2 separate regions of the Homo sapiens genome follow, and region 1 is linked to region 2. Evidence: promoter capture Hi-C in 16 types of primary human blood cells and fetal thymus (Javierre and others, 2016). All regions are on one chromosome and are shown on one strand. The core of a region is centred on a gene start or on the middle of the fragment in contact, and the rest is flanking DNA. Distances in the headings are between cores, read along the strand shown. Region 1 overlaps LINC00861 (long intergenic non-protein coding RNA 861). Region 2 holds the start of LRATD2 (LRAT domain containing 2).

Region 1 (3,618 bases), core at 561-3,060, 630 kb before region 2:
GAACCTGTGGATGACATCGAGGACTTGTTGTATTTTCAATTCGTCCTCTTGTTTAATCCACATTATTACTCCATGGAGTAGATACAGTAATTTTTATTTATATTTCATATATGAGACTCAGTTATTGAGTAGGGGGAAGGTATAACCCAAGACTTCTGACTTGGATTCTAATGCTCTTTCTTTCACCCTCTACCTCATTTGGAGGTCTAAAAATTGGAAAACAAGACAAAGAGGATATAAAAGATAGTGTAAGACTTTTCTTACATAAAAAAAAAAGAGTCAGAAACAAAACCTTCATTTTTCAATGTGAAGGAAGTTTTTTTTGTGTGTTTTTGTTTTGTTTCCCCATGGTTTTGAGTTTTCCAACTTTCTTGCTTTCCCTCCTGGGCTAAAAATCCCATAAATTTCCTTCAACTGATTTCCAGCTCAATTATGCAAACTCAAGAGACTTGTGTAGCTTGAATGCATTAGAAGATAACCCTTAATTAGTGATGCTTGGGTGAAATCCTCAGGCATTGGTATCTCATTTGTTTTACTGGGGCTCTGGTATTTTACTTAAAGGATCAGCAGTGTGTAATAACAAGGTGAATTATGTGGTCATGACCTGAAACTCATTATGATTATCATAAAACTTTTGATTCTTTCCCCTTCCTTTGCCAAAGTCCTTGGAATAGGGGAATAACTTAGAATGTAAAACCACTGTGCCTCCAGATCTTTCTGACACAAATTCACTCCACAAATATTATCTATGCATGATCATAAAGCAATGATACTTCTTTTCTTTTGTCTAGGATGTGGTTATAAGGCACTTTGTTCACTAAAGTAGGACATGGATGACTGGAGGTGTCAGAAACAGGAATGGTACCTGCCCAAGGAAGGAGGGAAAGCTGGGGTGGACAGATGGCTGGTATACCTGGGATCTGATAGGGAAGGGCTAGACAGGTGGCTGGTACAGCTGGGATCTGAGTTTAACAGAAGTGCACAGGGATCTACTCAGAGGAAATGATTGAAAAGCCTGTGGGTTAACTGCATCAGGGACAACTGTCCACAAATCATGAAGCCCCAGTATCTGAGCTGAGTTGAAGGGCAGAGAGGAAAAGAAGTTAGGAAGGGCAAAGAAAAACAGGACAGTTTTATAGGAGTTAGATGCTTGAAACAAGAATTTGAAACAAGCTCAAGGAACATGTCAGAGATTCAGTTAACTGGAGTGGAGAATGAGATCCTGGCAGAACCAGTAGCGAATATTTCTTTATTCTGTATCTATGTATTAGACAAAACCTGCTCATATCACATCACAGGTAAGAGTAAATTTATCCATTAAATTCACAAAGGCTTTTTGAGCACTTATCATGTTTGTAGTAGGTGATGGGAATTCAACAGATGAAACAGAAAGGCATCCTGCTGTCAGGCAGTTTATATCCTAATGGAGGGCTAGAGACAATAAACATAATAAATAGTTGAAGTTAAATAGAGATGACATTTAGTATGTAAAAGGTATTGTGTAATGTGAAAAACGGGTTTAGGATAAACAATATTGAGAGTGCTAGGTGTTCAATCAAAATGAATGCAGACTTAGGTAAATGGAAACTTTAGTTAAACAGCAGGGAGAATGCTTCCATCTCAGAAATCTCAAGTGTCTCAAAGTCAAACAGAAGAGGACATATCTTTTGGAGAGAGGGAGAGGTAAAACTGACAGGGAAGTTTGTAGGGGCAAAAGGCAAGAGGGCAGGGTAAGAAGGTGGCAAAATCAGGTTGCTTCAGCAGAGAAATGTTTTTCTTTGTGGTCGGCTGATTCTCGGAATGAGTGTTGAGGAGGATATTCTGCACCTGAGGTGCTTAGTGCTTATTTAAACTTGAGGGCAAGTCAAAATGTAGGGGCCTGTAGGGAGGGGAGAAGTCTGGCTGAAGTTTGGTCAAGCCAACGTTAATGGGCAATGGTGAGCCCTTGATCACCAAGGAGACTGTTTATGTGTCATATTCAGTAGAGTGGTCCAGGAAGAGCTCATTGAGAAGGTGACATAATAGCAGAGTTGAAGTAAGTGAGAGAGCAAAGTCTAGAAAGCTGTGAGGAAGCAAAACATGCTGATATCAAGAGAAAAGCATTTTAGGCAGAGGGAAAAGCTACTGCAAGCACTGAGGTAAGAGTGCAGCTGTTGTGTTTGAAGAATAGGATTTTCCAGAGACTTCCCTGATAATATCTTCTATCCCACATGCTCCTTTGCAATGTGACCTTGCCATGTTACCATGAGCAAGTGGAGTTTATTACTCCATGCCCTCAAATCCTGGCAGGACTGGTAACTGCTTTAACCAGTAGAATATGGTAGAAGTGTTGATGGGCCAGTTCCAAGCATAGTCTTTAACTGGCTTGGCAATTTCTACTTCCTGCCTCCTATAACACTTGCTCTTGGGACTCTGACCCTCAGAACACTGAATGCCATAGCTGCTATGCTATAAGAAGCCCAAGGCATGTGGAAAGGCCATGGCCAGAGGCATGTAGGTGCTCTTGTCCACAATCCCAGCTCAGCTCTCAGCATCAACTGTCAGTCACTGGAGTGAGCAAGCTACCGTGGACATCAGCCCATGGATCCTTCAGATGACTTCAGACTCAGCTGACATTGGACTGTAACCACACAAGAAGCCTTAAAGCACAAATGCCCAGTTGAAGTCAGTTAATCCACAGACCCAATAGAGAATATAACAAATTGTTTTAAACTGCTTAATTCTGGGTGGCTTGTTATGGAGCAATAGATAACTAAAATAAATAAAAAGGAGAACATGGTAGCTAGAGGAATGTGAGCAAGAGGGAAATTAGCAGGAGATGAAGTCAGAGAGGACTTGGGAAGTTCAATAGGATATTTTCTTGTAATAACTTTGAGTTTTGCTTTGAGTGAAAGAGAGAGCTGTTCTGGGGTTGTGAAAGAGGAGTGCCATGATCTGACTTCCATTCTAAAAGGAGCCCTCTGGCTGCCATGTGGGGAATAAACTGTGCATACTTTGGTAACAATTCAGGTAAACAATGGTAAAGGGGTGGGAGATGAGAAGGTGTTGCTGTCTGTAAATATTTTGAAAGTAGAGCACAACAGTGTTTCCTCACAGATTGAGATATAAGAGATGAGATTGCCAATAATGTTTGAGATACTAGAAAAGGATGTGTCCATTTTGAACTGAGATGGAGAATACTGCTGGAAGGCAGGCTCAAGGAAGAAGACTAGGGGTATATTCGTTAGAAACACTGTTGGCCTTCTCAGTGGAAACATCAAGTAGGCAACAGGATACCATAACTTTGGAGCTGGTGAAGGTGTCAAGGTTGAAGATGTAAATACGGGAGTCAGCAACATGTGGGATTTTTAAAGTCATGAATTAATGAGATCCCCTAGGGAGTGAATGTAGTTAAGAGAAGAGAAGAAGACTGACTGATCCCTAACACTTTGCAGATAAAGCAACTGGGAGGAGACAAAAAATTAGCAAATTAGACTGAGAAGAAACAGTCAGTGACATAGGAGAAAAACCAAGACAAGGAATGTGCTGGAAATCAAGCAAAGGGAACATTTTTAGTAGGAAGAAGTTATCAGCTGGATCAAAAGCATTTAGGTCAAGTAAGAAGAGAACTGAGAATTG
Region 2 (3,357 bases), core at 271-2,770:
GTGCACCACCTGGAAGTTACCCACATATACGGCCCAGTGCGGGTACTGAGCCTGCGACACGAACTCCACCAGATCGCCCGGCTTGCACTTGTTGAGCAGGTTCTCGGGCGTGTAGGTACTCAGCGCCGCCGAGCCCGGCGCGAAGCTCTTCTGGTAGATGCATTCGTCCCGGTAGAACACGGAGCATTCCACCTCGTGCAGCCGCGGATCGTAGGGCTGCGGCTGGGGCGGCGGCGGCCCGTCCCCACCGTCGGGCAAGCCGCCGCCATCTGGCCCCTGAGGCGGCGGCTGCGGCTCCACGTCCTCATCGTCATTGGAGAAAATGTAGGAGACCCCAATGCGGGGCCCGTCGTCCCGGTCCACGCCAGTCGGGTCGGCCGTGGGAACTTCCTTGTAACTTAGGTGGGTCAATTTCTCCACCTGGTTGCCCATCACGCTGCGGACACACGTTCACACCGCCGCAAGGGGAGAAAGCGAAACCAACTCCAGGGTCATTTGCACAGGTCCCCGGACAGGGGCTGAGGCTACCTGTTGGGAGAGGAAGGCAAGAAAGCCATGCAGGAGCCCCTCCGTGAAAAGGGCGTTTTGTTCCGAAAAAGAATCGGTGGGGGCTCAGCACCTGGAGCCATTTTAGGGGGAAGTCTCGGGTGTAGCGAGCTTTCCCTCGTTTCTCCACCTGTAAGGTCACGGTCACAGGAGACTGGGCAACTCCTGTTCTCCCTGTCCCCAGCCCTTCGCCTGGCCCTGGCAAAAGCCCATTGCATCAGCAGCTTCTACTGCTTCCGCCTGCGCCCTACCTGCCAAGCTTGGGCAGGAAGAGGGAAGGAAAGAGAAACTTTACGCCAATCCCCCCCCTCCTCTGCTAACTTCCCCTCCCACCCTCGGGCCCTAACTAGCCCCGGGGACGCCTCCTCCCCACCAACGCATCCATCCCCAGAGGAACAAGCGAGGATCTCAGAGCGCGACCTGGACAGGTGAGTCACCCTACCTGGCTCACCTGCAGCGCTACCTCCTCCCGGCTCGCCCGCCCTTCCCCCGCGCCCGCCCTCAGGCTCGGGTTACCTGCACAAACTCACCCGCGGAGAGGTGAAGGCCGTGGGGCCTGGGGAAGGGCTCCCTGCCGCGCCCCGAGACTTCTAGGGCGAGTTTGAAGGTGTAGGCTCGGCAGTCCCTCCTCTCCCGGCGCGGGCGGCAGCGAGGCTGGGCAGAGGGCAGCGCAGCGGGCAGACTAGGGGCATGTCTTTCCCCCGCGGCTGCGTAGCGCCCCGATACTTGAAGGCGGGGGGCAATCCCTGTTCACACCGCGCTTCCTCCCGCCAGCTGGGGCTGCTGCCCCTCCTCAGCCAGCTCTCGGGGGAGGTGGGGCGCGAGGAGGAGAGGACGGCAGCCTCGCAGCCTGGCGGCAACAGCTCCCGCTTGGGCCGGGCGAGCAACAAGCACCGGAGCTGGAGGGACGGGATTGTAGATCCGGCTCCGGGCTCCCGGGCGGGAGCGCAGCCCGTGGCATTTAAAGAGACAGGCGCTCACTCCCCGAGCTCGGGTCTTTTTCACATTGCGCCGAGCGGCCGGGAGCCCCGCCCCCGCCCCGCCCACTCGGGCCTCGGGACTCCGCCCGGCCACGCCCCCGCGCCGGAGCGGGTTTAAATCCCCCTGTAAATAATCCACCCGCCGCCTGGGGCTGGTGCTGTGAGCTCTGCTTGCCTTCCGAGACAAGTTAGAAGGCAAACACAACTTGCCAGTGTGGAAATGAGAAAGGGAAGGAGAGTTTGGTGTTTGCGCCTTTTCCCTTTGACCTGTTTTTTCCCAGAGTACCTGGAGAAGGAGGAACAGTCGTTTCTTTTCTTTCCTGGAACATATTTCTTGCCCTAAAGGTCACAAGAAAGGATTCTTCACCAGGACAGCTCGAAGAGTGCGTCATCCTAGAGGTGTTTTCAGAGTTAGTAGTGGGAAACTTTGGGGTAGAAAAGAAAATCGCAGAAAAGAAACAGTATAAAACAGAACGAAGACTTATTCACTGACTGGGTCCCAAGACCACCGCTCTGTTTATTAGATACCCCTGGAAGTTAGTACAAAGTTCATAACCTCCGTTATTTCCAGAGAGGTACCAGTTCGTTGGATAGTGAGAGAAGCGTGCAGCTCTGACTGCTTTTTTTTGGGGGGGTGGGGGGTTAGGGGATGTAGGAATTGCCTAATTCCTACATCCTAATTCTAATTGTCCTTAAATTAGAAACAAATTAGCAGAGGCCCTAGTGGATATATTTCCTTCCTGTTGACTTAGGGAAGTGACAGGAGACCAGTAATGCCTACTAACCTCCACCACAAAAGGACACTTCCACCTCTCCACTGGTTTCGTTTCTTTTACCTAAATGTAGGCTACCAAAGTGTTTTTTTTGTTGTTGTTGTTGTTTATTTTTTTAAAATAATGGGTCCGGTGAGGGTGGAGGATTAACAGCTCTGTTTACAATAAACAAGTTTAGGCACTACTGCAAGCACCCAGACTTATTCGTAGGGGACTTAAGAATGCGATTCAAGACCTATATTCTGTCTTCAGTTGCTTTCTTTTGACTAATTTTTTCCAGCATGTATAACCAGCCAGTGGAAACAGGAATATACTAGCACTACTGTGATCCTTTCTAGTTTAGGAGAAAAAAATAAAAATCATTCTACTTATGTAATTTTGAGTCCAAACAATCAATATTGGCAGGGCTGTGATAGAAATTAGTCCTTCAGCAAGTCTGAAGTATAAGTTAGATCAACATGAGACTACTGTGTGCTGTGCGATTCTGTTTCAATAATTTCAGACTGGCTGGCCTCAGGCGCATGTGACTGAATGAATCCAACACACCCCAGTCCTTTTGATAGCAAATGGTGTGGGGGGCTGCTGTTACCTGAGTGATATTTGTTGCCATCATATGATCACCATATTATAGACAAGAGTTAGGCTTATAGAGATTATGGCTGGTCATCCTATGTTCATCAGATTGGGAGACCTCTGCTACTGCCTGATTTGGGAGGCCACTTTGCTCCTAGGTGCTACTGGGATGGCTGGGAATGGGAGAATTGAACTGAGAGGACACAGTTGTAGGACAATTTGCTACCAGCACTCTAGGTCAGAGATCTGGTGGGTGAGGAAGCAATGCCTAGCTGACTAGGTGTGTCTCCTTTTGTCTTGATGAGCTGTTCTCAGGTGCACAATAGTGGCTCAACAACATATCTTGAACTGACCAACTATAAAGCCTCAGAGGGAACAAGCCCTGATCCATTTTATATCTGAATGCCTGGCACTGAGTGGGTACTCAATAAATGCTTGATGGATGCCTTAGGGGAAAATTTGGCCACAGGTCAAGAATTGCTTCC

Evidence for each region. The method cuts DNA at HindIII sites, captures the fragments that hold promoters and counts their contacts. A CHiCAGO score of 5 or more calls a contact.
Region 1: a contact is called between a fragment that was not itself captured here and the fragment with the promoter of LRATD2 in region 2, in 2 of 17 cell types (M1 macrophages and M2 macrophages). The highest score is 6.0, in M1 macrophages.

The regions. Positions count from the first base shown.
Region 1 is chr8:125,928,745-125,932,362 of GRCh38, forward strand. The region is part of intron 3 of LINC00861 (long intergenic non-protein coding RNA 861); the gene reads right to left. Among named protein-coding and RNA genes, the nearest start is that of LINC00861, 21 kb to the right of the region's middle. The HindIII fragment of the contact is 4,485 bases long and covers 1-3,618 here.
Region 2 is chr8:126,556,958-126,560,314 of GRCh38, forward strand. It overlaps LRATD2 (LRAT domain containing 2), which reads right to left and starts at 1,521. Exons shown (of 2, transcript NM_174911.5): 1 at 1,077-1,521; 2 at 1-528. The coding sequence starts at 432. It overlaps LOC105375751 (a long non-coding RNA gene), which reads left to right and starts at 919. Exons shown (of 6, transcript NR_188069.1): 1 at 919-974. RefSeq lists an enhancer at 923-1,759 and a silencer at 1,474-1,653. The HindIII fragment of the contact is 2,746 bases long and covers 804-3,357 here.